Linked DNA regions of Homo sapiens: all the other regions are linked to region 1. Evidence: promoter capture Hi-C in 16 types of primary human blood cells and fetal thymus (Javierre and others, 2016). All regions are on one chromosome and are shown on one strand. The core of a region is centred on a gene start or on the middle of the fragment in contact, and the rest is flanking DNA. Distances in the headings are between cores, read along the strand shown.

The links. The method cuts DNA at HindIII sites, captures the fragments that hold promoters and counts their contacts. A CHiCAGO score of 5 or more calls a contact.
Region 2: a contact is called between a fragment that was not itself captured here and the fragment with the promoter of MSANTD4 in region 1, in 2 of 17 cell types (non-activated CD4 T cells and naive B cells). The highest score is 5.5, in non-activated CD4 T cells.
Region 3: a fragment that was not itself captured here is called in contact with the fragment with the promoter of MSANTD4 in region 1 in 1 of 17 cell types (monocytes); the score reaches 7.1 in monocytes.
Region 4: a fragment that was not itself captured here is called in contact with the fragment with the promoter of MSANTD4 in region 1 in 1 of 17 cell types (total CD8 T cells); the score reaches 5.2 in total CD8 T cells.
Region 5: a contact is called between a fragment that was not itself captured here and the fragment with the promoter of MSANTD4 in region 1, in 1 of 17 cell types (total B cells). The highest score is 7.3, in total B cells.
Region 6: a contact is called between a fragment that was not itself captured here and the fragment with the promoter of MSANTD4 in region 1, in 1 of 17 cell types (naive CD8 T cells). The highest score is 5.6, in naive CD8 T cells.

Annotation. Positions count from the first base shown.
Region 1 is chr11:106,020,321-106,025,186 of GRCh38, reverse strand. It overlaps MSANTD4 (Myb/SANT DNA binding domain containing 4 with coiled-coils), which reads left to right and starts at 2,947. Exons shown (of 3, transcript NM_032424.3): 1 at 2,947-4,225. RefSeq lists enhancers at 2,406-2,475, 3,306-3,425 and a silencer at 2,866-2,975. The HindIII fragment of the contact is 3,155 bases long and covers 998-4,152 here.
Region 2 is chr11:104,973,164-104,977,772 of GRCh38, reverse strand. No RefSeq gene overlaps it. Among named protein-coding and RNA genes, the nearest start is that of CASP4, 6.9 kb to the right of the region's middle. The HindIII fragment of the contact is 1,634 bases long and covers 1,826-3,459 here.
Region 3 is chr11:104,843,569-104,848,394 of GRCh38, reverse strand. No RefSeq gene overlaps it. Among named protein-coding and RNA genes, the nearest start is that of CASP4, 120 kb to the left of the region's middle. The HindIII fragment of the contact is 551 bases long and covers 2,139-2,689 here.
Region 4 is chr11:105,011,133-105,016,039 of GRCh38, reverse strand. The region is part of intron 1 of CASP5 (caspase 5); the gene reads left to right. Among named protein-coding and RNA genes, the nearest start is that of CASP5, 9.6 kb to the left of the region's middle. The HindIII fragment of the contact is 2,323 bases long and covers 1,270-3,592 here.
Region 5 is chr11:104,892,482-104,897,134 of GRCh38, reverse strand. It overlaps the pseudogene CASP12. Among named protein-coding and RNA genes, the nearest start is that of CASP4, 74 kb to the left of the region's middle. RefSeq lists an enhancer at 1,915-2,443. The HindIII fragment of the contact is 4,621 bases long and covers 1-4,189 here.
Region 6 is chr11:104,954,659-104,959,510 of GRCh38, reverse strand. It overlaps CASP4 (caspase 4), which reads left to right. Exons shown (of 9, transcript NM_001225.4): 2 at 4,510-4,764. Among named protein-coding and RNA genes, the nearest start is that of CASP4, 11 kb to the left of the region's middle. The HindIII fragment of the contact is 2,362 bases long and covers 1,211-3,572 here.

The DNA.
Region 1 (4,866 bases), core at 1,698-4,197:
TCTCTAAAAGGAAAAAAAAAAAAAGTAGAACTCAAAGAAGTAGAGGGCAGAATGGTACTGCCAGGGCTGGGGGTTGTGAAGAAACCTCCAGTTATAAAATGAGTAAGTTATGGGAATCTGTCATAAAGCATGGTGACTATAGTTAATATTATATTGTTTACTTGAAATTTTCTAAGAAAGTGCATCTTAAGTGCCCTCACCTCCCCCCCCCACCCCCCCCCACCAAATAATGGTAACTATGTGTGGTGATGGATGTATTGATTGTGGTAATCATTTCACAATGTATATGTATATCAAATCATCATGAATATATATAATTTTTATTTGTCAATCATACCTCAATAAAGCTGGAAACAATTTAAAAACAGGTAAAATTAATTTTAATAATATATTTTTCTTAACCTAATTATGCAAAAATTATAATTTCAACTTATAGTCAACACAAAAATTATTAGTGAGATATTTATTTTTTTCATGCTAAATCTTGGAATCCTGCATATATTTTACACTTACAGCACATCTCAATTCAGACACTATTTTTAAATCAGAAATACTTGATCTATATTTAGATTTCAAAAAGTTTACAATTGAAAAAGTATACACATAACCCAAATTTTCCAAATAGAAGTATCTAGTAACTTGAATCAAATATCAGTTTTTAAATTAAAGTTAATTAAAATTAATAAAATTAAAATTCAGTTATTTGGTTGTACTAGCCACATTCCAATGACTCATCTGGCTATCACAGTTGGACAGCACAGTTGTAAAGTAAGTGTGTAAGTATCTTTGGGTCAAATCTCTAGCCTGGACTTAAGAAAAATTAAATCAGCAAACAGGTTGATCATGGAGTACTGATAGTACACATTATGGATTACCTTCAAATTCTTCATTGTTGGTCCATATCCACTCAGACAAGATGTAGCTGAGAGGAAATAGTGAGGGTATTTGGAAAAGATACTTCAATTAGCAAAGAGACTGAGGTTAATTGGGGAAAGCTTAGAGTTCATGATACGAAAGCAAAAGTTTGTTAATACTGATTCACCATTCTTGTCCCCATTACTGAGGTAAATAAACAGAGTCAAGTGGTGGACAGGTTCTGAACAGAACTGATAGTGTCTGGTTATGATGGGGATAGCTAGTTATCTTACTTTCTCACTGCACTCATCAAAAAAACACCACCCACCATGAACAAAATCCAAAATTATAAAATACAACTTGTATTTTTCCAAAAATTACAAGTTTCTTTTGATCTACTTTGGCAAAAGTATAGACATGCTTCTTTGACAAACATGTCTATACTTACTGACAAAGTCATAAGTAACAATCTGTAAGATCAATCTGATCATTACATTTTAAAGAGCATATTTCATAATTACTTCCTATTTTATGGGAGAGTTCCTCCAAGAATATCCAGCAAGGATGCACCATTCCTCCAGAATATTCCACCATTTATTTACCAAATCTTTTTTGTCTGTTACATTCTAGGCACTGTGTTATTCACAACAGTAAACAAGAAAAGCCCCACCCACATAAAATATGTGGGAAGTGCTGTCAGAGGAAAGGCCGTGATGAGAGCTCGCTGAAGTAGGCTTGCAGATTTAGTAAACAAAAATTTTTATTTTTTTAAATTTAGCAAATAAACATATGGATACCAAATATTCCATTGGACAGATTAAAAATTATTTGCTTTTTATCTGAACTTCAAATTTAACTGAGCGTCCTGTTTTTATCTGGCAAACCTACAGGGAAGGGAATACTTGGAAGTGGAGGGAGGGTGAATGGAGATAATTTTGGAAGCCTTCCTTTAGAAAGGAATTTCTAAAAATGAATGCTAGGCATAGCGGAGAAGCAGGGAGGAAACACAGCAATGCAAACTGACTTCCCAGTAGCCACTGTAGAGTTCAGGAACTGAAAGAAGCAAAGGGAATGGGGTAAGGAAGAAGAAATGTGGGTATAATGTCGAGAGATGAAGGTTGAGGGAAAAGTAGGTGCCTTATTTTTCAGGTTCGATAAGGAGTTTGTACTGTATCACCAGTGGTGAGATTCCACTAAAAAACTTTAAGCAGCTCATTTTGGCTACAACGTGAAGAATGAACTACAGTCCGGCAGACAGGATGTTGGGAGACCAGCTAGGAGGCTACTGATGGAATTCAGGTGAGTCCACAGAGGCCTGGACAGAGGCAGCGGGAAGAAAGGTGCACTAATCACAAACACCTGAACGTGAGACGGCAGAAAATAAGCAACTGCAAACTTGAATATAGAGGAGGACTGGGAGAGAAGAAAGCAGAAGCACATATTTGGGGAAACAGTGAAGAATGGTAAAAAAAAAAAAAAAAAAAAAAAAAAATTCAAATGTCTTCTGGGAAGTATATAGTATGATAAGGACTAAGAAGTGACTCCTAGATTTAGCCATAAGGAAGTCACCAGCGACCTTTGGCACGGGCAGCCTTAGAGGAATGGCTGAGGCCAATTAGGTCGCAGCTGGTCGAGGAGAAGGTGATGCTGGCCTAAGAACCCGACTGGAGCAGCACAAGTTTCCTACTTCTTCTTTGCCCTTTTAACAGGTGAGGGTCAAGGACAAGAGACGAGTTTGGAGATGCAGCGGCCAGTGCCCCAATCAGTTGGAACAGCGCAGCAAGCGGATCTCTAGGGGCCAATCCCTTCCTAGAGTCCACTTGACTGACAGAGCTGCGCGCCACAGACGGGGCACAGACAGGGAGGTGAATCACGAGGGGGCGGAATTCCAGGGCACTAACCCGGAACCGGTTTGGGACTTGATTCCCATTGTGAGGCCAGGCCTAGGGCGGGCTCTCAGCCAGAATGGCTACACCATTCTAACCAATGGATGAGACTCATCAAATGAGCGGCAGCCATATGAGCCATTGGGGTGGCGGGAGATGGGCGGGCCCAGTTAGTGGGCGGGGGATCAATGAAGCATCTTTTTTCCTACCCCCCTTGGGGCGACCGTGGGGAGGTGCCGCCGGGGTCGCAGGTGAGCGGTTCTATGCTGGAGGAGGCGGCCAGGGAAGCGGCGGCTCCGTGACCAGTGGGTGCCCTCGCAGTGGGTAGGGTCCCGGAGGGGTCAGCGGCAATTGGCGCAACGCTTGCTGCCGGGTTTGGTCCAAGGGCTGCGACGTAGCGGGACTGCACGCTCGGGAGAAGTGCCACGCGCGTCTGTCGCCTGACCGGGGAGGCTGGGGAGGGCCCAGGCCACGGAAACAAGACTGCAGAAGTTTCTGGGCACTCAGTCGGGACTCTCATTTAATACCCAGAGAGAGGAGATCTTCCAGGTTGCCCCGACTCCCACCGGGACTCCTACCAGCAGCAACCTCATCATTGTGGCCGAGGCAGGTGCGCGCCCCTGCTCCCCTGGGTGGCCTTCCGGGAGCCCAGTCTAACTCGATTCTTCCCAGGGGCTCTTTTTGGACGGTCCCAAAGGAGGCAGCGGGAGGGAGGTGAAAGATACTTTGATAACCGTCGACCCATAAGTATACTTGTTATGCACCTACCACGAGTTTTAGAGAAGAACATACTTTTTGGCAGGGAAGTGAATCCCCTATAAGAATATAGGGGAGGGGAAAGCCACACTTTAAAGAGAATTTGGGTAGGGTTTGATATTGTAGATTTGTGATGCTTTTCTTCTTGAACTGCTTAACTAATTTACCCTCAAATTTTTTTGATCCGGAACTTGCCGTCTGGTTTTTCTCAGACTTCTTAATTCTGACTTATCATGAAGTATCTAGGAACTTCATTCTCAAGTTTTAGTGCTTGTAAAAAGTTGCCTGGTTATATTATGCCATTGGCAGTACATCATCTTCACAAGGATTACGTAAGTGAACTACATCTCATTCCTGTTTCCAACTAGTGAAGAACGATTGTGAAATGGGATTTTAGAAAATGGCTGTTCTCTGTGATTGGGCATAGAAGGTTTGTAAGTTTTAGAGACTGCAGCTGTTGAATCCTTTCTGCTAAGAGAGCGATGACAGGCAATAGAAAAGGGATAGTGTTTGACATCTAAAATGACATATTTTCACATTTTATGAGGTGTTATATCCCCAGCACCAAAAATAGTGCCTTTCACACAGTAGGAGCTCAGTAAGTATTTTTTGAGGAAATTATTGGGGAATGAATGGATGGTAGAAAACCCAAGCTTCTGTTACTTGGATACCGGCATATAAAGGAGAGGACAGGAAGACAAACATTTCTGGAAATGGCTTTTATCCAGGTAAGCATATCTACAGAACTTCAACAACTCAAGATGCATCAATGCTGGCACTTTCTTGCACTTAATCAGAAAATATCAAGGTTTTAGAAGAAGATTTTCACACAATTAAGCCAAGACTGGGTATCTAAGGTGCATCCCAATATCAATTTCAGTCAGGTTAAAAATGTATTAAAGCCCATTTGATTAAATGAAATAGTTCATCAGTTCAGAATAGATCAGTCAGGACAACGGGATACCACTTTGTAAGTTAGAGATATGGAGTTAGGAATTGTTGGTCAAAAATAGGCCCTGCAAATAGCAACAGCTGCTGTCAAACTTTAAAAATATATTGACTCAGTGGTACTTCAAAAGGACTGCTATTTCTACCATGTACCAATACATTTACAACAATGCGATTTCTAAATTGATCTCAGATTCTAAGAGCAAAATCTTACGGTGGATATCTGCATAAATTTGGACTCTCGACAACTTCAATCATTTTTATTATATACTTATATTGGTTATATATTTATATGTTACTACAGTAACAGTTCTTCCATATTAATGGTAGCCTGCTTGAATTTCAAAAAACTTTCACAGTTATATTTGTCTCTTTCAGTTCATTTTTAGCAAATAATAGTCTTATTAAGCCAGAATTCGCT
Region 2 (4,609 bases), core at 1,393-3,892, 1.0 Mb after region 1:
CTCCCAAGTAGATGGAACTGTAGGCACACACCATGATGCCTAGCTAATTTTTCTTTTTATTTTTTGCAGAGACAGGGACTTGCTTGTTTCCCAGGCTGGTCTCAAACTCCCAGCCTCAAACAATCCTCCCACCTTGGCCTCCCAAAATATTAAGACTACAGGTGTGAGTCACTTCACCTGGCCTGCTGAATCTATTAAGGGTGATAATTTTATGAATTTTATGAATATTTTCTGAGATGAGACACTGATCATATCACCAAATATCCTATTCCTTCCTTACAAAACAATCAAAAACTTACTTTAAGTATTTTTTATTTTTTGAGACAGAGTTTCACTCTAGTTACCTATGGCTGGAGTGCAATGGCACAACCTCTGCTCACTGCAACCTCTGCCTCCCGAATTCAAGTAGTGATTCTCCTGCCTCAGCCTCCCGAGTAGCTGGGATTATAGGTGCTCGCCACCTCACCCAGCTAATTTGTTTTGTATTTTTAGTAGAGACAAGGTTTCACCATGTTGGCCAAGCTGACTTGAACTCCAGAACTCAGGTGATGCACCCGCCTTGGACTCCCAACGTGCTGGAATTACAGGCTTGAGCCACAGTGCCTGGCCATCTGAGGTCTTTTGTGTTGTTCTGATTCCTCTATGAAAAAAACAAGCATTTTTTTCCACCTAATGATTATTTCTACAGTTTTCTCCAAAATATTCATTCTAATTAGCTCTTATCTTCTCCAAAATTAACCCACTTAATGCTGCTTTGGTTTACCTAGCTGATTTTAAAGGAGTTTCTCAAATTCCATTTCCAAATTGAATATAATTTTCTCATTTTAATAGCTTAGTTTCTAAAAGAATCTCCAAATATCTAGTACATTTATTTATATTTTGAAACAGACAAAGATTACATTAATTTATTTATCAAATACATCACATTGTCATATGGTGTGGAACTTGTGATCAAATAAAATTTTCAAGGATTTTCTCACATAAACCTCTGTGAAAACTCTTCCTCATATGTTTATGAAAGCAATGTTTAGTGCTATGAAGTCATCTATTGTGCACCTTGATTTTAGCATTGATTATTTTATTTCATATTCATTCTAGTTTATATGCTCACTATTCTTCTTCTTCCTTCCCATATAGATATGTACTGAGAAGAAATCCTGAATGTTGGCACAAAAGCTCATTAGAACAATGTCTAATGCTTACTATCATGTCTAATAAGTAAATAAATAGATAGACATACATCTTGTAAAGACATATTTAACAAAGTTAATTAAGTCTTACTCCTATTAAATTTATCCTAGGGTTTGAATCTTTTGAAATCAACTTATATTGTAAAGATTTTATCTCACACATTGTTTTCTGAGTGTTTTGTTACGTCCGGCCTTGAAAATGCCCCTTTCTATGTTTTTGTCTAAAATATTTGTAAAAAAGCTGATGCTAGAATATTAATATAGATTCCTGCATTGCACCACTAAAAATCTCCTCTAGCTTGGGAAGTGTTCCATTAGCAGAGAATTCACTCAATGGTGTTAATGACTACATCAGGATTGTCCTCCTAAGAATGCATTTCTTCTTTTATGGCTTCACACATAGATGATGCTGTAAGGAACACAAAGTGGGACAGAGAAGAATCCCATTATCCACGAGGAATGCCATTCTTCCTGGGAGGGTTAGAGGTGAAGTTGATGTCAGAGATATGAAGATGCTGATAGAATCTCTGGGGTATAGCGTGGATGTGAATGAAAATGTCACTGCTTCAGTAAGTTTTATCATACACAGAGACAATGGTAATGGCTTTCATATTCCTAAATTATGTTAGAAAGCTTAGTTGTAGGACCAGAGAATATAATCTCTTCATAATCTAAAATCCAAATTTGCCATTGGAGGATGCCGGATGCTACATGTTCTCTTATAACATAAGGATTATTCAGCTAAAGCCTGGTATAACTTAATTGGGGAGTGTTTTATTAACTCAATAATGCTTCCTTCTCTCTATATCTCTGGATGATTTCCTATAACACTTTCTTCCCTTTTCTCCAAACTAAGACTAAAATTTTTCTTGCCTCTCCATTGTTCATCATAAAATTCCTTAAGAAATCCCTTATGTATTTATTTATTTGATTTCTAAGGTGCCATGATAGTGAATTACACAGTCCAAAATCAGTGGTATAGTGCCTTTTAGGAGATGACTACAGAGCTGAAGGCATTTGCTCATTGCCCAGAGCACAGGACCTCTGACAGCACTTTCCTGGTGTTCACGTCTCATGGTATTTGGGAAGGCATTTGTAGGAAAAAATACTCTGAGTAACTCCCAAATATATTAGAAGTCAATGAAATTTTCCAAATGTTGAATACCAGGAACTGTCCAAGTTTGAAGGACAAACCCAAGGTGATCTTCATCCAGGCCTGCTGCGGTGGTGAGTGCTAATGTCTTTAAGAACACCAGACATTCAACCACTGACTTCATCTGTATGCATCCAGGATTTTTCAGTTTCTTTATGTCTGTCTTTTAATGTCAAAGAACTCATACTGTCAGTACTGAAGATTGTGGCTTCTGTGAATTAGATGGCTGGCTGGTAGATATTCGTTCTGATGACTTTATCTTGCCCAAATTCCTATCTAAGGGGTCTGGGGAGCCAGGCCCTACAAACCATAAATTCTCATCAGATGGATTTTCTTTAACCCTGTGTATCGTGACTTTAGAATCTCACCCTGGCATATCATTATGTGACAAGGAGGAAAGTCAAAATATTTTACCCCAAAACATGTTTCTTTGCTATATTTTGAAATGGCCCTGCAAAGTTGTCCTTTGTGCCGGAAAATTTGCATCTGTAAAGAATCTCTGTTAACATAGCTAGATCATTTTCTTCCAGGCTTTCCTAATCCTGAAGAGATTAACTAAGAGTCTAGCACCTTTTAAAGGTCTGAATAGGAAACATTTGTCATCTGTTTTCTCTAAGGCCCGTCACTACAAGACTTCAAAAGAACCTTGGTCTCCACAATCTTTTATCTTAACCTGAGCATTTTCTTTCTATCGATTTTAAGTCTTTAGGCAAACTCAACCAATTATCAACCAGAAAATGTCTAAATTTACCTGTAGCCTGTAGTCCCACACTTTGAGTTGCCCCAACTTTTTGGACCAAATGAATGTATTTCTTAAATGTATTTAATTGATATCTCATGCCTCCCTAAAATGTATAAAACCAAGCTGTACCCCAACTACCTTGGGCATATGTTCTCAGGACCTCCTTGAGGGCCTGTGTCATGGGCCATGGTCACTCATATTTGGCTAAGAATAAATTTGTTCAAACATTTTACAGAGTTTTACTCTTTTCATTGACAATAATTTGGTGATCAAACATGTGGCACCTCAGAGAAGACTCAGGACCCGGAAGGAGTTGCCCAAATATGGAGCTATGGTAGTAGCAGGGCCCATTGAAGCCTACATGACTTCAAGCTTCTCATCTGGTGGAACTGGTAAGTCCTCCTGAGCCCCCGACTTCTCTTTGGTTGATGGTCTTTGATTTATCTTAGCTGGTTTTTCTCCTAGAAAGTTGTAGTTTCAGGATTTTAATTATAGTTTGGAGATGATTTTCAAGGAATTCTCTCTATTGCTTTGTCTCCCAAAATTAATCTTAATTCACTTTGCACATTTGCATGAGGAACTGAATTGTTGATTTCACCGGTTAATGAGAAACTGAGTTTTCTCAACTTTTTTTGAAGAGAAAGGGCATTTGCTCCTCCTAGCCAAAAGGCACCCCTGGGTATGTCTGGGGGTTGACCCCCTTGTGACATGCAGTAGCCCTGTAGGAAAATCCCCAACAAAAATTAATTATAAAAATGGCTTGTCCAGGAAATGAATATCAGGCTGATTACCCAGTGTTTTGAGCCCTCTCAGAGTTTGTAGAACTCTGGAGAGAGAAACTGAGACATGTACAAGGGTAGACCTGACTCAATGGTGACACACTGTAGAGTCCTGCCCACGAGCAGTACAAATCGATCCACCACACAAAAACCCTAGGCCACAGCTCAGTTTCTCCTTTTAAGAAAAAAAAAAAAAAGCAGGAAACAAATAATCTAAGAATGAGTAGAAAACAAGGAGGAAAAGCCTATTTTGAGCACTTTGTAGGTTTTTTTGGCACCTCTACTTGCCAGAGCATTGGGGGAAACCCATCCCTGATAATTCTTTGTGGGCACTTATCTATTTCCCTAAGTGTCGGCCAGTCTGAGAAATAAAGGGAAAGAGTACAAAAGAGAGAAATTTTAAAGCTGGGTGTCCGGGGTAGACATCACATGTCGGCAGGTTCCATGATGCCCCCTGAGCCACAAAACCAGCAAGTTTTTGTTAGTGATTTTCAAAAGGGGAGGGAGTGTACGAATAGGGTGTGGGTCACAGAGATCACGTGCTTCACAAGGTAGTAAAATATCACAAGGCAAATGGAGGCAGGGTGAGATCACAGAACCAGGGTGAAATTAAAATTGCTAATGAAGCTTTGGGCACGCATTGTCATTGATAACATCTTATCATGAGACAGGGTTTGAGAGCAGACAACCAGTCTGACCAAAATTTATTAGGTGGGAATTTCCTCATCCTAATAAGCCTGGGAGC
Region 3 (4,826 bases), core at 1,165-3,664, 1.2 Mb after region 1:
CTAATGTATTCTTCTTTCTCAATCATGTATTCACTTAAAAAATACACAAGGACATAATGACCAGTCTTTTTTCACCCATTATGTAAATGTAGACATAATTTTTATAGGGACAACTGGAAGATCATCTTTGTGAGAGACAGAGACAGACCTTGGAGCAAAACCTCAAGATAATGTTCCTCCAACAGCACCATAAAACAGCTATCTATCTGACCTACTCACAAAAGAGGTCTTTTACTGCATCCTTTGCCAAACTGTATACTCTCACCTAGGTTTTTAAAACTTTCCTGAAATTGAATAGCTACGATTATATTTACACTATTTACCTCACATTGTTGTTAGAATCGAATCATCCAATAAGTAGGGAGGTGTTTTAAGAATAATGCTATCCAAATGTATTATAACAAAGGATGCTCTTAAATGCCACATTTTCCAAAAGAATAGAAAAATTAAAAAACTTTTAAAACACAGGAAATACAGCAACTTATATAAAACCTTCAGGGATATGTAGGAAATGTAATGAGGATACATCTCTAAGAACAAAACAAAGGTAAGCAAAGCAAACTTAAAAAAAATAGGGTCAGATCCACAAAATATCTATGAAACGATCATCAGAAAAGAACACTGCTATATTTTCCATCTGTCATCTCAGACTACCTATGTCTCCAATCAGACATTAGGCTCTGTTTTACAGATGAACCAAATTCTACAGTTAGAATGTTTGCTCCAAACACAGCTGGATTAAGGAAGTGTCACAAAATATTAGATTATTTTAGAGCCAAGGGAAGTCTTTCCTCTTTACACATAGTATGAGATTGCCCTAGGCTGGGTGCCATGGCTCAGGCCTGTAATCCCAGCACTTTGGGAGGCCAAGACAGGTGGATCACTTGACGTTAGGAGTTAGAGACCAGCCTGGCCAACGTGGCATAATCCCATCTCTAGTAAAAATACAAAAAAAGAAAAAATTAGCTGGGTGTGGTGGTGGGAGCCTGTAACCCCAGCTACTTGGGAGGCTGAGGCACAAGAATCGCTTGAACCCAGGAGGCAGAGATTGCAGTGAGCTGAAATCATGCCACTGCACTCCAGCCTAGGTGACAGGTGAGACTCTGTCTCAAAAAAAAAAAAAAAAAAAAATTTGCATACGGCTAAGCAGTTTTCCCAACACCATTTATTAAATAGGGAATCCTTTTCATACTGCTTGTTTTTGTCAGGTTTGTCAAAGATCAGGTGGTTGTAGCTGTGCTATCTTATTTCTGAGATCTCTATTCTGTTCCATTGGTTTATGTGTCTGTTTTGGTACCATTACCATGCTATTTTGTTTACTGTAGACTTGTAGTATAGTTTAAAGTCATGTAGCATGAGGTCTCCAGCTTTGTTCTTTTTACTTAGGATTGTCTTAGTTAGACAGGCTCTTTTTTGATTCCATATACAATTTAAAGTAATTTTTTCTAATTCTGTGAATAATGTCAATAGTAGTTTAATGGGAATATCATTTCTTTGGGCAGTATGGCCATTTTCATGATATTGATTTTTCCTATCCATGAGCATGGAATATTTTTCCATTTGTTTGTGCCCTCTCTTATTTCCTTGAGCAGTGGTTTGTAGTTCTCCTTGAAAAGGTCGTTCACGTCCCTTGTTAGCTGTATTCTTAGGTATTTTATTCTCTTTGTAGCAATTGTGAATGAGAGTTCATTCATGATTTGGCTCTCTGCTTGTCTATCGTTGGTGTATAGGAATGCTTGTGATTTTTGCACATTGATTTTTGTATCCTGAGACTTTGCTCAATTTGCTTATCAGCTTGAGGAGCTTTTGGGCTGAGTAGATGGGGTTTTCTAGATGTAGGATCATGTTGTCTGCAAACAGAGACCATTTGATTCCCTATTTGAATACTCTTTATTTATTTCTCTTGCCTGATTGCCCTGGCCAGAACTTCCAATACTATGTCGAATAGGAGTGGAGAAAGAGGGTATCTTTGTCTTGTGCTGGTTTTCAAAGGGAATGCTTCCAACCTTTGTCCGTTCAGTGTGATATTGTCTGTGGGTTTGTCATAAATGGGTCTCATTATTTTGAGATATATTCCATCAATGCCTAGTTTATTGAGAGTTTTTAAAATGAAGGGATATTGAATTTCGTCAAAAGCTTTTTCTGCATCTATTGAGATAATCATGTGGCTTTTGTCATTAGTTCTGTTTATGTGATGAATTACGTTTATTGATTTACACATGTTGAACCAGCCTTGAATCCCAGGGATGAAGCCAACTTGGAAAAAAAAAAAAAAAGATTGCTCTTCTGATTCACTGAAATTGAAACAGAAAGAAAGAAAAACACAACTTATTAGTCAATAATTTGAACTCCTCCTCTTAGCAGCATCTCCTGGTCAGCATTATAATAATTATTCAAAAGCAGTGATTCTGAATATGCAAAAGCAGTGATTCTGCAAATACTCTCAGAAATTCTCAGATCATTTGAAACATCTACTATAAGTTCTCAAAATAAATGAGAAAATATTACTGTATTATTTAAACAAAGTCCATTTCTTTGTTATAAACCACTGACTACACCCCAGGAATACTTCAAGGAAGAAAGGACACAAGAAGATTTCGGGGTAAGAGCTAAACAACTAGAAGTTTGAGGAAATCGATTTATTTAGTGGAAATGATTTTCATTTACTGATAGATAACATGGCAAAGCTTAGAAATTCCTATATCTTTATTATCTAGGAATTCATCCTCACATACTAAATTGGAGACACACGCACATGCAATAGAAAGCCTCAATTTTCTTTCAGAGACCTATGAGATGTAATGTCTTAGAATCCTGGTTTATTAACACTAACGCCATTAAAACTTTTGTAATATTTTGAAACTTGAATTTTAAAAAAAGGATTAAGTTATGAAGACGAGTAAAATTTTTCTGTATCCTGGTAATTAACTTGATGTAAATGAAGAGATGCAATTTAAAATTGTATATACTAGGATAATGATTTAAATGAATCTTAGCTAATACAGCTTATGAACTGAAAAAAAAATTAACAAGTTTGAAACTTAGCAAATGCAGAAAGTAACAGAAAGAAAAGCAAAACTTATTCATAATTACATCATTCATAGATAACCACAATTAGCTTTGAAGGTGTAGCCTTCCAGTTTCTTTAGCAAATATATGTTTTACGAGTGTATGGGTGTATAGTTCAGTTTACACTTGGGAATTTTTTTCCTTTTAAAAGCATATTGAAACTTTTGTCATGAGGTTAAATAATTTTTTCTAAAACAGTAATTTGAATAAATTATTAGTATTAATTATACAGCTATCCCGTAACGCTGTACTTAATGAATTTTCAATTATTAAAGTTTATTTTATTTTTAATGTTTCTATTGAATAAACAATGCTAAAATAAATATAATTCTAGATTAACCTTTGCCAATGTCTGGTTATGTCTCAGAGTATAAATGATTCAAAGTTATTTAGCCATTGAAATCACCCATTAATATTTTTAATATATTTTCTTTAAACTGATCTTCAAAAGTCTCTACCACTTTACAATTCCAGCTGACAATGTAAAAGAAAAGTCTGTTTTAAAATATTTTTGCCAATTTTGAACACAATCAATTCTTTATTCTTTGCCAATTTGCCAGACATATTTTTAAGATATCTTATGAGTTAAATCATATTTTCTTAGTGCAGTGGCTTAAGAACATGTGTATAGGAATTTGTCAGTCATAAACTTGTGATTCAACTCTACCACTAAGTAAATTTCGACAACATAACTTCCCTTTTTATTTCCCCATTTCCTCATCTGAAAAGCAGGTTTTATAATAATAATAATATTTTTATATACTTTTAAAATAATACTTTTATAATAATAATAATACTTATCTCCTACATTTGCTATCATGTTTAAATGGTTTAATTTAGCTCAGTGCTTGGCACATGGTAAATGCTTAATAAATAGTAGACATAATTTTGTTGTTACTAATAAAAGCACTACTGATCTAAAATTAATTTGAACTCTTTACATTAATTGAAAATGTTTATTTTTCTGAAATTCCACATTTACTTTTAAGACACTTCAAAATTATTGGAGTTTTATTTTTATTGGTTTATTAAAGTTCTTTAGTTTTAAGCTGCATCATTTTCTTCAACATAATATCTGAAATAAATACGTTATTGCTATTTGTCTTTATCCTTTTAATATGGTTTATGACATTTTCTGAACTTTGAAATTTTATAATTTTCTTTAGTGAAATAGTATGCATTTTCCTATTTAATTTTGCCTTTGCTTGTACACTTACAAAGGTTTTGCCATACTAAGATAAGTAATGGATATTAACATCAAAACACAATATCTAATTAAAGGATTATATGTGCTAAGAAATCTGGGCACCAGCAATATGCCATGACTGAGAATCTACATAGTTAACATTAGAATTTCTGAACAAGGTCACAAAACACATTTGATTATTTAATATTGTCGTGCATGAAAACAATGTATCAATAAAAACATATGCCAATGTCTGTTGAACAGTAAAACTAAAAGAACATGCTAATAGGAAATAAGGATTAGGCCAAATGTCAAAGGATATGCTTTGAAAGATTCATAAATAGTGATTAAAAATGTAGATTAAAATAAAACTATCTGAGTGTAATGTTCCTGTGTTAAATTATCCAAGAAAATTTGGTCACCATTACTCTCTACAATTTAAATTGATTGTTGTCAACATGTTTGCATAACATTAGAATACCCACAAAATGTTGAATTACTCTGTTTTAGAGGTTAGTGTTTCAGTTCCTTTTCTCTAAGAACATGCATTAAAAGACTTAAGTTTTTATTG
Region 4 (4,907 bases), core at 1,182-3,681, 1.0 Mb after region 1:
TAAAAATATCTAAACTTTCAGATAGTGTTTTAGATGGTGTTTCTGTCTTTCAAAATATACTTATTCATTTTTCCATTAATCACTCTAAGGCACGATTTTTACGTTCATAAGAAAAAGAAGCAAATGTTTACTGTATTTTACTTCACTTGTACTTCCTTGCTGTTGAGTTTCTTTATTCGATTCTCCCACTAGCTTAATTATCTCCAAGGTTTACATCTCACCTCACAACATTTAACTGAAACTCCTAAAATGCAGGAATTGCTTGCTTTTAAATTTTTTTTTTTTTTGTCTATTTTATGATACTAAAAAGCATTTGGCCAGGGAGGAGTAAGTCAAATTCATAGCCATGGCTGCCTCTTTGGCCGGGCAGGCTGACTTTACTGGTCGTAGACTGGAGTCAGGAGAATCATTAGATAATAGATAGGAGAAATTGAAGAGCACTAATCAAAAATAAGTTAAGTGGGTTAATAATTATAAACAACCATGTGTAGTTGGTCTTTGTTAAATAAAACTAGTGAAAAACAGTATCCTATATAAAATGTGTAAGAACATCACATCACTTTGCCTAGGACCAAAACTGCTCTTGATGAATTTGGCCTCTAAATTATTCCATTCGTTTTTATTATCACTGCATCTTCAATTCATTGATTACTAAAATAACAAAAAGTAATCAATAAAAACTGTTTTTTAAAAATAATACTGTGTGATCGGTATCTCTTGCACTCTCTGTGACTGAATATTTAAAACCAGTCAGTTAAGTTTGTGCTATTATTGCCATTTTATAGTTGAGGAAGGTGTCTAGAAAAGGACTACGAAATTTTCTTTTGGTCTAATGTCTGTTGAGAAGAGTGAATCTAGGTTGGCCTGACTCTTAAACTCAACACTCTAATGTTCTGTCAATTTTCTGCAAACAAACATCTTCAAATGATGGCCCTATCTCATCACGCCCACTTCAGTCCTGGCTGCACACTTCAATACTTTCTAAAGCCCAGCTAGCCCAGCTTCCTGATTACTTTAGACACCCTAAAATCTTTGTGTTTCTTCCCACACTGCTCTCTGTTAGGGGACCAGCCCTCACTTGTCCAAGGGGCAAATTCCTCCTAGTCTTTCAGGTCTCAGTGCCAAGCCCTCCCTTCTCTGGACAGCTATCTTCTACCTGAAACACAGTGTGCTCATGCTTTTTTTTGAGCATCTGCTCGTTATTTAAATTCTTACAATGTTTTTTATTTGATGTATTTGCATATCTATCTTTCCACTTGACTGTAAGCTTGAACATGTAAGAACATTTCCTCAAAATGGTACCCTCACAACTAGCAGAGTATTTTTCACAAACTTTTGCTCACCAAATTTTCCAGAATGAATATGCCTTCCTTCTGCTTAAAACTTCCAGTGTGTGCTTATTGTCTATTAAATAAAATCAAACTTACTTACCTTTTATTAAATATTCTTCAAGAGTTGGGCCATACCTAAAATTTATTCATTTGTTTCTACATTCACTCAACTAGTGATTCAGTAGATAATTATTAGACTTCCCTTGAGTGCCAGAAGTAGTGCAGGCCTAGTTTATGGCCACCTATCCTCACAGAGCATAAAATCTAATGGTGGATGCTGAGAATTAGGCTGGAAATCACAATTAAAGGTAAAAAACTATGCTACCCTAAAGAGAAACAAGGTGCCCTAGGGGCATGTACCTCTGACATTGTCTCCCCTCAGAGAATCAGAGGATTGCCTGAAAAAAAAAAATGCCATCTGGTCTTAGACTTGGAGAATGAACAGAAAGTATAGGAGAATAGGAAGCAAGGAGAAGGTGGGAGACTGGACTAGACATTAAATGAAGAGCAGAATATTTTAATTGTAATGAGCAAGGTGGGGACAGTATCAGAAGATGAGGCTGAATGAGAAGGCCTAGGTTAGAATAAGCTGAGACGTTTCATGGTCAAATCTAGATATAGGAACACTCTTTATTGTGAAGAATAGAATAGAAAGGACAAAAAGAAGGTTTATAAGGTTCTTGGTGTAATTCAGAAAGAAAGGGTGTTGGCCTGAATAGAAGTAATGAACAATTAAAATTAAGAGTAGTGGTCAGATTCTGAAAATGTTTAGTAAATAAAATCAATGCAGTGTGAATTGAGTTGGGGAATAAGACATACAGAAGGCAGAAGAAGTTTAATATCACCAGGTTTTGCTGCCTTCCCGCACTTGGAAGTTAGGTATTATTTTTTACTATATGGAGGAGCAAATGAAGGATGGAAATAGAAGAAAATTAGCAGTTCAATTTTAAAAGTTCAATTGAATGAGGTTGTGGGAGTATTTTAAGTGACGTCTCATTTTTGGACGTATGGGTTTCCATACGGGATCCACATCTGGGCTGATCCATAAATTTGAGTCATTTATTTATTATTTTAAACTTATAATTGATGCTATGAGAATTTATAGATTATGAAAAGAGGCTCTCAAGCCAAATGTCTTGAATTGTTTTTTATAAATATTATTTTATTTATTTAATTGGCAAATAAATATTTTATGTACTTATGTACAAAATGATGTTTGAAATATATATTGTAGAATGCCTAAAGAGCTAAATAACATATGCATTACCTCATATGCTCATCTTTTTTTGTGATTACAGCACTTAAAATTTACACTGTCAAACAATTTTCAAGAATTCATCATTGACTATAGTCACTATGTGGTGCAATAGATTTCTTAAACTTACTTCTCCGATCTAATTGAAATGTTGTTTCCTTTGATCAACATCTCCCCAAACTTCCTGCCTCCTCCTAATCACCACCATTCTACCCTCTGCTTTTATGTGTTTAACTTTTGTGAGTCTACACATCAGTGAGATCATATAGTATTTGTTTTTTGGTGCCCAGCTTGGCTTATTTTATTTAATGTAATGTTATCCATGTTAATCAATGTTGTCACAAATGACAAGATTTCTTTCTTTTTTCTAAAGCTGAATACTGTTGCATTATGATACTTTCTCCATCCATTCATCCATCTACAGATACTTAGGTTGATTTTATATCTTGCCTATTGTGAATAATGCTGCAATCACAATGGAAGTGTATATGTCTTTTCAACACACTGACTTAATGTTTAAAATATATACTAAATATTTGGGCTGCTACATCATTTTTAACATTTTTAATTCATTTTAATTTTTAACTTTTTGAGGAGTTTCCTATTGTTTTTCATTATGACTGTACTAATTTATATTTTCACCAACAGTATACAAGAGTTCCTTTTTCTCTACATCCTTTCCAACACTTGTTATCTTTTTTTTTTATAATACCCATTCTAATCATTCTAACAGGTGTGAGGCATTATCTCATTGTGGTTTTAATGTCCCTGGTGATCAGAGATGTTGAGCATTTTGTATAGACCTGTTGTCCATTTATGCATCTTCCTTTGAAAAATGTCTATTTTGGTCCTTGGCTCATTTTGTAATATTTGTTTTCTTCCTATTGAATTGTGTTTCTCATATATTTTGAATATTAATATCTTATCAGACATATGGATTCAAATATTTACTCCTATTCTGTTGGTTATCTCTTCACACTGTTGTTTCCTTGGCTTTGCAAAAGCTTTTTAGTTTGATGTAATCTCATATCTTAATTTTGCTTTCTTTTCCCATATTTTTAGTGTTATATCCAAAAATCATTGTCTATACCAGTGTCATTAAGCTTTTCCACGTTTTTGTGTAGTAGTTTCAAAGTTTCAGTTATTAGGCTTATGTTTTTAATCCATTTTGAGTTGATTTTTGTATATGGTGGCAGATAAGGGCCCGTTTTCATTCTTCTGCTCTTGGATATTTAATTTTCCCAACATCATTTATCGAAGAAAGTGTCCTTAGCCTATTGTCTGTTCTTGAAACTTTGTCAAAAATAAATTTACTGTAAATAACTGGGTTTATTTCTGGCCTTTTTGTTTTATTCCATTGATCTCTGTGTTTGCTTTTATGCCAGTACTATGTTTGATTATTATAACTTTGCAGTATGTTTTAAAGTCAGGTTGTGTGCTGCCTCCAGTTTTGTTCTTTACTCAAGGATGCTTTGGCTATTTGAATTTTTAAATAATTCCATATGAATTTTAAGGTTGATTTTCCTATTTCTGTAAAAAATGCCATTGGAGGCTTAATAGGAATTGTATTGAATTCATAGATTTCTTGGGTAGTATAGACATAATAATGTAATATTTTCCAATTCATGAACACGGGATATCTTTTGATTTTTGTGAATCTCAGGCATTTTCTTCTGTCAATGTTTTATAGTTATGAGTATATACATCTTTAACTTTTTGGTTACATTTATTCCTTATTATTTCATGAAATTTTTTTATAGCCATTATAAATGAGATTTTTATCATCCAATTTTTTAGTTTGTTGTTATAAAAATGATACTAATTTTTGCATGTTGTTTTTGTATCCTTCAACTTTACTGCATTTGTGTATTAGTTCCAACAGATTTTTCATGGAGCATTTAGGGTTTTCTTAATATATGTAAGATCATGTCATTCATAAACAGGACACATTAACTTCTTCCTCTCCTATTTTGATGCCTTTAAATTCTTTCTGTTGTCTAATTCCTCTGGTTAGGATTTCTAGAATAGAAGCGGTGAAAGTGGGTGTGTTTGTCCTCTTCCTAATCTTTGAAGAAAAGCTTTTATCTTTTCACCATTGAGTATGATGTTAACTGTGTGTTTTCTATAAGTGGCATTTATTGTGTTGTAAACCTCTTTAGGTTAATTGCTTTTCACATGTCTCCACATATTCATTCAGTCAAAACTATATTCATTTACTAAGCATGCAAGTAAGTTAAATAGAACTTCAGAACTCAGGCAGAGTAGACATTCCATTAACTAATCTGTGTACTCTTTGCAAATCTTCACATTCCCTGTTCCAA
Region 5 (4,653 bases), core at 630-3,129, 1.1 Mb after region 1:
TTCCTTTCTCCAAGTGGAGAATAAACTATGCCCATCTTAGGACCTTCTTCACCAATCTTTTTTTTTTTTTCTTTTTTTTTTAAGACAGAGTATTTTGCTTGCTGTTGTCATCCAGGCTGGATGGAGTGCAATGGTGCAATCTTAACTCATTGCAATCTCCACCTCCCCAGTTCAAGCAATTCTTCTGTCTCATCCTCCTAAGTAGCTGATTTTATGGGCATCCTCCACCATGCCTGGCTAATTTTATTTATTTATTTATTTATTTATTTATTTATTTATTTATTTATTTATTTATTTTTTAGTAGACACAGGGTTTCACCATGTTGCCCAGACTGGTCTCAAACTGCTGATCTCAGGTGATCCTCCTGTCTCAGCCTCCCAAAGTGCTGGGATTACAGGCATGAGTCACTGGGCCTGACCTCCTGTCTATCTTATTTAATGTCACAAAATACCTTGATCATCCCCAATTACTTTTACACTGCTGTATACTTTTTTCTTTAACAATACTCACCATATCACTCCATACAATTTACTTATTCATTATATTATTATGTCTCCCTCTGCTGAAATGTAGACTCCACCATGTGGGGGGTCTTTGTCTGCTTTGTTCATGAATATATCCCAAACACATGGAAATGATACCTGAAACATAATAGGTGCTCAGTAAATATCTGTTAAATAAAGGAATGGTGTTGGATACATTAAATTCAGTGATAGCCTTTAGCTATTCTGGGCTACTCTGGTTGCACAAAGTGGACGTTAGAGTCATTCCCAGATACAGAATGTACAATAGGGGATATCTATTATCTTTTGCTTAGCTGTGGCTTTGCCCCAGAAAGAAATGTCTGGAAATCTAGATTTCTATTTAAGGAAGGAATAGGGAATTCATGGGTCAGTGGGGTATAGATGTTTCCTTCTCTCTGGAACATGGGTTGCTACACTTTTTCTTTGAAAGATAATTAATATTTTAATCTTTCTGGACCATGTGGCCCCTGTCATGACTCAAATCATCTATTGTAGCTCACAAACAGCAATAGACCATAAGTGCATGATGGGTGTGTTGATGTGTATCCCAGTATAACATTATTTATAAAACTGGGTGTTGGGCTGAATCTGACCCATAGGCCATGGTTTGCTGATTCCTACTCCAGACTGTAATACATAAATAAGTATATTCCCAATTCTTGGATATGCATCAAGAAAAGGCCAGTGAGCCAGGATGTTTAGCCATAACTTCTCCCCAGAGGTGGCATTTCAGTACATACTTGAACTGTGGGGAAGGAGTTGTGCCAAACTCTGAAACAAAAGTGTTCTCTAGAAAGGGGAAACAAGAGCAAGGACCCTGAGACAGTAATGCTCTTGCTGTGTAAGAGGGTCACAGCCAATCTGACTGGAGAGTAGGAAATTAGAGGGAGTATAAATGGAGCTATTAAAGAGACAGGCCGGGATTTTATTTGCAATATAAAACGTTGCAGGGTTTTGTTTTTGCTTTTTTTTTTCTTTTTTTGGAATCTTTTTTAGACAACTGTTTATTAGCAGTCGAGGATCCTTACAAATTCCAGGAGTGTTGCATAGCCTCTGTTCTTCCTGGCCATCTATTACAGTTAACATCTATTTCTAAAACAAGTGCTTAAACTTGTGTGAGTATTAAAGAATGTTTTTATGGAAGCTAAGTTTTATCTTAGTTTACATAAAATAAGTTGACATTAAAAAGCAGAAGTAATATGACATATGATAAATTGCCCTGAGTAAGAACTTGGTACTCCCTTTTACCAAAATGTAAATAAGGTGTTTCCAACTGAGAGTTTTTTAAAAAATAAAGGAGCTTTTAATCTCCCACTTTTCTTTCTCCATCTCTTTCATTTTTCCTTTCTTATCATCTGTTTTATTTTCTTTCCCATTGACATTCTTTTTCTTGTTTCTGTTTTTTCCTTCTCTCTTTTTTTCCTCTGTTCTTTTTCTCCTTCTTTCCTTTTACTTTCTTCCCTCCGTACTCTCAATTCTCCCTTTAATTTCACTGCCAATTTTGAAATCATTACATGCTAATTGAGCCAAGTAGGTTGTAACTGCAAGGGCATGTCCTAATGTCTACAGCAGAAAAATGATAAATGATGCATCCTGCCTTCATTTACACTACCTTAGAAGCTGTTAAACGAGGAGTGATAGGATAAGCGTCGCATCACAAAGGCCAGTTGAAAGCGGTTTAAATATTTCAGTTAGAAAAACAATAGCTTTTAGACTGGGTTTATGGCAATAGAGCTGATGAAAAGTTGTTAAATTTGAGACCTAGTTTTGGCAGCAGAATCAATGCAAATTGACTAATGGATTGGATATGGGATGTGAAAGAAAGGAAAGAATTAATAATGACTAGGTTTTTGGCTTGGCAACTGGGGTGTATGGTGCCATTTACTGAGTCAGAGAAAACAGGTGTGCAGGGGACACAGATTTGAAGGAATGCACAATATCAGGGTCCTGTTTTGTATGCTTACTTTGGAACATGTGGTACCTCCAGTGGTGGATGTTGAATAGGCAAATGGATGGGCTCACAGAGAAATCTGGACTGGGAAAAATCTGGAGATTCGTCAGTATGTAGATAGTTTTTAAGATATTGAGACTGGAAGATGCCACATGGGAAAGAGCATTGATAGAGAATAACAGAGTGTCTGGCATAGAAAAGCACAACTTTTGGAGGCATTGTGGAAGAGGAAGAACCAACAACTAAGACAGACAGAGTTAGGAAGAATGGCTGGAAAATGCAGCATTACAGAAGCCTAGAGAATGCCATGTGAATGCTAAGAAATCAACATATAATCAGTGGTAGTTTGATAACTATATTTTATTTAAGGATTGAGGATAACAGCTGGATTGGATTGCATACAAAAATCATAAGACAGAAAAATTGGAAATAGCAAAAAACAAAATGATTTTCAGGCATTGTGTAGAGAAGTAAAGTAGTGATATGGGCCAATAATTGGCAAGGAAACAGGAAGGTTTTTTTTAAAAAAATGATATATATTAAGTCATGCTGCTGTCAATAGGAATAAGTCTGTGGGAAAAGAGGAAGAGAATGAATGATGTCATAGAACCTGAAGCTGAATAAATACCTGAGAAAAACCCTTGTTGGTGGGAGGGGATGGATTTGAGAGCTCAGGTAGAGGCGGTGATCTTAGATAGGAGGAAGGACACATGTTTTATGTAGCCAAAGAGAAAGTAGAGGAGGTGAGCAGAGATGTAGGCAAATTAATGGATTTGGTGGTTAAAAGATGAAATATTTCTTACCCAAAACTATGAAAAGAAATAGAAGGTTTGTTGCCCTAAGGGAACAAAGAACCAGGGGATACCTTGTAGCTATTTTCAAGTATTTGAGGATAACTATTCACTAACAGAATTTATAAACTAGCAATCTTGGTAGATACTATTCTAATATACTGGAAATACAAAGATAGAAGACCACCTTTTCTATCCTAATTAAGGTTATAGTACAGTAAACACAATTAAAGTACAATGCAATAGTTGTTTATGTTGAAGGTATTTTCATGTAAGAATGAAAAAATAGGGAAAGACATGTTGGTCATGGAAGAATTCATGGGCTTTTACAGGGAAATGAATTAAATGTTTTCTGTATGATTCTGAGGTGGGAAATACCTATCAATACCTAGAAGGTACACAGATTGTAATACACATAACTGTTCAAGAATGCCTTGGAATGTTTTGAGTTCCATGAAAGGGGAGATGTCTCAGAGAATGGTAATAATAAAGAAGGGATATTTCAAGTGACATGAAATAGCTGAGTACTGATTCCACTAGGCTAGATAAACATTACACTTCCTTCTGAATCTTAGTTTCTGTGTTTATACGATGCTAATGTGTTGGGTCTGAAAGATAAGTTCATGCTGTGAGCACTAACAAAAACACACAAATTGATAACCAGGTCAGTAAGAAGCAGAAGGAAAATAGGGATGTACTCAATATTTTTGCTTTAGGCATTTTAAATATGAAGCAATTTTCTCATTTTATGAAACTTTTTCATGGACTGGCAGTAAGCAGTTTTGAGGAATGAGAGCCTAGCAAAAGGATCTGCAGTGTTGCAAGGCAGCAGACATTACTGCTTACTATGCCACAGAATTTTTTTCTCTCTTTCAGCTTTTCTGGAAATCCAGGGTGCCCAACCCAGTGGCAAGTTAAAGCTTTGTCCTCATGCTCACTTCCATGAACTAAAGACAAAAAGGGCAGATGAGGTGATATGCTTTGAAATACGGAGACACAAGATTACTCATTCAGACAAGACACTGGGGACTTACTGGAATGGTTTAGCTCTCGTCACAAAGGCCTTAAGATCAGGAAATTATCTAACCAATTGGTCTTCACATTACATTTTCTGTTTCTTCCATCTTATTTTGGGACACAGTCTAAACTCTCCACCACCTAACTTAAGCCAACTTCATACAGTGAACACTTACACCACATACATGCTTTCAGTCTGGTTTTCTGCCTCTTTCCTCACGAGGGTGTATTTTCATGCAGAAACTTTGTGTCACTTACTCTATATTTATATTGGCCTGTTGTGTATGAACTTTGCAGGCAAAAGAGAAAAGTCCTGGGGAAAGTCATTCTGTGTGTATTAATTGCAGATATATCCAGTGATGGAGAAAG
Region 6 (4,852 bases), core at 1,142-3,641, 1.1 Mb after region 1:
GATGCCATCAGAATGTGTAGATTATACCTCAGGCCATACTTTTAATTTACTTATTTATTTATTTGACAAATAAACATTGTACATATTTTCTATGTACAACCTTCTGCTTTTATGAGTTTAACCTGTTTAGAGTCTATGTATAAGTGAGATAATGTGATATTTTGTGTTTTGGTGCCTGGCCTGGCTTATTTTACTTAATATAATGTTCTTCATGTTCATCAATATTGTCAGAAACGATAGGATTTACTTCCATTTAAAAGCTGAATAGTGTTGCATTTTGTATATAATCCACATTTTCTTCATCTATTAATCTGTCCACAGACATTTAGGTTGATTTTATATCTTGGCTATTGTGAATAATGCTGCAATGGAAATAGAAGTTCAGATATCTCCTCGAGACACTGATTTTCCAATTTTTGATATATACTTAATAGTGGGATTGCTTGATCATATCTTTAGCTCTATTTTTAACTTTCAGAGGTGTCTCCATATAGGTTTCCATAAAGACCATGCTAATTTACTCTTTTTTTTTTTTTTTTTTTTTTTTTTTGAGACAGAGTCTCACTCTGTTGCCTAGGCTGGAGGGCAGTCATGGAATCTAGGCTCACTGCAACCTCCGCCTCTAGGGTTCCAGCAATTCTACTGCCTCTGCCTCATGAGTAGCTAAGATTACAGGCGCCCACCACCACGCTCGGCTAATTTTTGTATTTTTACTAGAAGCAGGGTTTTACCATGTTGTCCAGCCTGGTCTAGAACTACTGACCTCAGGTGATCTGCCCGCCTTAACCTCACAAAGTGCTGGGATTACAGTCGTGAGCCACTGCGCAGGGCCTAATTTACGTTTTACCAACAGTGTACAAGAGTTTCTTTTTTTCTACATCCTCTCCACCATTTGTTATCTTTTGTCTTTTTGGTAATAGCCATTCCAACAGGTGCAAAGTGATATTTCATTGTGACTTCAATTTCCCTGGTGGCTAGAGAGGTTGATCATTTTTCATATACATATTCTCTGTATGTCTTCTTTTGAAAAGTGTTTATTCTGGTCCTTTGCTTATTTCTAAATCAGTTTATTTTCTTTCTATTGAATTGTTTGTGTTCTTTGTATTTTGCATATTAATTCTTTATCAGATGTATGGTTTGCAAATCTTCTCTACCATACTGTTGATTATCTCTTTAATCTTTTGATTGTTTCTTTGACTGTGTAAAAGCTTTTTAGTTTGATGTAATTTCATTTGCATATTTTAGCTTTTGTTTCCTGTCCTTTTCTGTCATATCCAAAAATCACTGTCTAGACCAATGTTATGAAGCTGTTCCCCTCTGTTTTCTTCTAGTAGTTTCACAGTTTTGGTTCTTACATTTACATATTTAACTCATTTTGAGTTTATTTTTGTATATGTTTAGAGATTTTTATTCTTCTGCATGTGGTTTTACAATTTTCCCAATATCATTTATTGAAGAATTTGTTCTTTCCCAGTTGTGTGTTCATGAAACCTTTGTTGAAAAGTCAAATTAATGTAAATAATTGGGTTTATTTCTGGGTTTTCTGTCCTGTTCATTTGCTCTCTGTTTCTATTTTTATGCAACTATTGTGCTATTTTGATGACTGTAGTACTTTGTAGTCTATTTTGAACTCAGATAGTGCGATGCCTGCAGCTTTGTTCCCTTTACTCAAAATTGCTTTGCCTATTCAGGGTTTGTTTTTTTGTGTGTGATTCCATATAAATTTTAGGATTTGTTTCTATTTTTGTAAAAGCTGCCATTAGAATTTTGATAGGAATTGCATTGTATCTTTAGATTTCTTTGGGTATTAGGGACATTTTAATAATAGTAATTTTCCAGTCCATCAACTCAAAATACATTTCTACTTATTTTTGTCTTCTTCAGTTTTCCCTATCAATATTTTATAGTTTTGAGATTTGTTATTATTGCTGTTATTTTTGAGACAGGATCTCATTCTGTAGCCAAGACTGGAGTATAGTGTCACAATTATAGCTCACTATAATCTCAAATTCCTGGGCTTAAGCAATCCTCCTACCTCAGACTTCCAAGAAGCAAGGACTATAGACACATGCTACTATGGCCAGCCAACTTTTTAAATTTCTTGTAGAGACATAGTCTCACCATGTTGATCGGGTTGAAGTTTTATACTTTTACGTGTACTTGTTTTTTACCTACTCGGTTAAATTGATTTCTAAGTATTTTTGCAGCAATTTTAAATGGAAATTTATTTATTTTTTAAAGATGGTTTATTGTTATACAGAAACACTACAGATTTTTGTATGTTGATTTTTTTTATCCTGCAATTTTCTTGAATCTGTTTATTTGTTCTAAAAGATTTTTGGTGGATCCTTTAGGGTTTTCCGTATATAAGACCATTTCATCTTTAAACAGGCACAATTAAACTTCTTCCTTTCCAATTTTGATGCCTTTTATTTCTTTTTGTTGGCGAATTGCTCTGGTCAGAACTACGTTGAATGGAAGTGGTAAATGTGAATATCTTTGTCTTCTTCCTGATCTTAGAGAAAGGGTTTTCAACTTTTCACCATTGAGTATGATGTTAGCTGTGTGTTTGTCATATGTGACTTTTTTTGTTAAAAACTCTTCAATTTTATTGCTTATTATATTTCTTCACATATCATTTATTCAGTCAACACTATATTAGTTTACTGAGCACACAAATAAATAAAACAGAAGCCCAGAACTCAGGTAGTTTGGATATCCCACACACTAATCTGTGTACTGTTTGCAAATCACACTGTGTTGCAACATCTGTACCTGATGTTGCAAGACTAACATTTTTGCTACCTCTTCTCAGAAGCCTTTGTGATCTCACCTGTTGGAATGCACTAATGTTTTCTGAGCCCCTTAAATATCTTGTCTACATTCTTTTAAGAAGCTCTTCACCAACTGTCAGGTAATGTAGTTTGATGAATTAAGAATGGGGGCTCTGGATTCTGAACCCCTAGATTTCAATTCTTGTTCCCAGTTACTATATACTCGGTGTTCTTTTACATTATTTGAGTCAATTACTTATTATCTTCCATTTTCCATATAAGAGAGGTTAATATATGTTTTATATGGAATTTTTGTGAAATTTCAGTAATGCACTTGGCATGATGAGGGCTCAATGAATATTAACTATTTTAACTGAACCATATCATGATTAACTATATAGACTATGGTGAAAAAAACAAGATTTGAATCCTAATTCATGTGATGTGACATAAGTTATTATTTAAATGGTGAATATAAAATAGGGAATATAATAACTACCCCACTGGCTTATTGTGAGGGTCCAGTATATTAACATTTGTAAAACCTTTGGTACAGTGATATGTAAATGATAATGATGATTATAATAATGATTTAAATTGTTTTATATGCATTCATTTTTTATTTATAATAAGTACATGGGAGATATTACCCTTTACTAAGTTAATTTATATTATGTAACTTTTTTCCTGGTTTGTAATGTCTAATGTTTTTCTCATAATAGCTGCCCAATAAGCACGTATGAAAATATTAATTCAAGATAACCCAGACAATGAGGCTGGTGCTTCTGTGCCAAAGCTTTTGTGCAATGTCCTGACATGATTTCTTTAGATGTCATTTTCTGTCAGCACTATCCTTACATCTACATGGATTGTATAATTATCTTTGTAGCATTGATTGAGAATTGATAAGATATCCAGCATTTCTGTGTACAATCTGCCGAAATCATATCTGTTGTATTGAAACAAAGGATGTATTACTTTGGTATCTATATTTCCTTATAAATATTCAAATTACTCTAAGGAGTAATACATTAACATGGTGTCAAATTAAACTAATCCACCACACTGGAAGATTAGGAATCAGGTTACTTTCAATTTTAAATTTTCATTGAGAACAAGATTTGAAAGAATTATAAATATGGATGCACTCATCCATTTATTCTTTAATTTATGTATTTAGCAAGCATATTAAGTACTTTTAAACATTTTGAATACAAAGATGTGGGTATAGGATGTAAGTTAAAAAAATGCAAATTCAAAGATATAGTTCTTTCACCAAGAAAACTAAATACAGAAAAGAGTAAAAATCATATAGGAAGTAAAAATCTAGTAGGAAGAATTTATATTCTAGACAAGAGCATTGACTTTCCCGGGAATATATATTTTAGGCAGATCATTATCACTATGGGCCGTGAACCAGTAAAAGAGAAAAATGAATACAGTGGATGACCAGGAAGTTTGCATTAGGTCCAATGCCACAGAAGGAAGTTGAGAAGCTAAAAGAAAAGAAAAGAAAAAAGAACAAAAAAGAAAATAAAAAGTATTTAGTGGCAATAAATTGTTAAACAACCTGGTAGGAATATGATGAATGACAGAACTCTATAGGTACAAGAAGACAGATGGTGAAGTAGGACATACTTTCAGAAGTATTTCACATTATAGAACTATATCTAAAGTGAGGGTGAAACTCTTTAAGCTGTGCCCATAGTTAAAGGAATCTTTCTATTTCTAACAGAAGGCAACCACAGAAAAAAGCCACTTAAGGTGTTGGAATCCCTGGGCAAAGATTTCCTCACTGGTGTTTTGGATAACTTGGTGGAACAAAATGTACTGAACTGGAAGGAAGAGGAAAAAAAGAAATATTACGATGCTAAAACTGAAGACAAAGTTCGGGTCATGGCAGACTCTATGCAAGAGAAGCAACGTATGGCAGGACAAATGCTTCTTCAAACCTTTTTTAACATAGACCAAATATCCCCCAATAAAAAAGGTAAGACTGGATTTTTTACAATGAATGTCTCAATTTTCCCTAAATCTGTTTAACTCCAAGGCCTAAGCAGTGTCTTCTGTGATTCCCC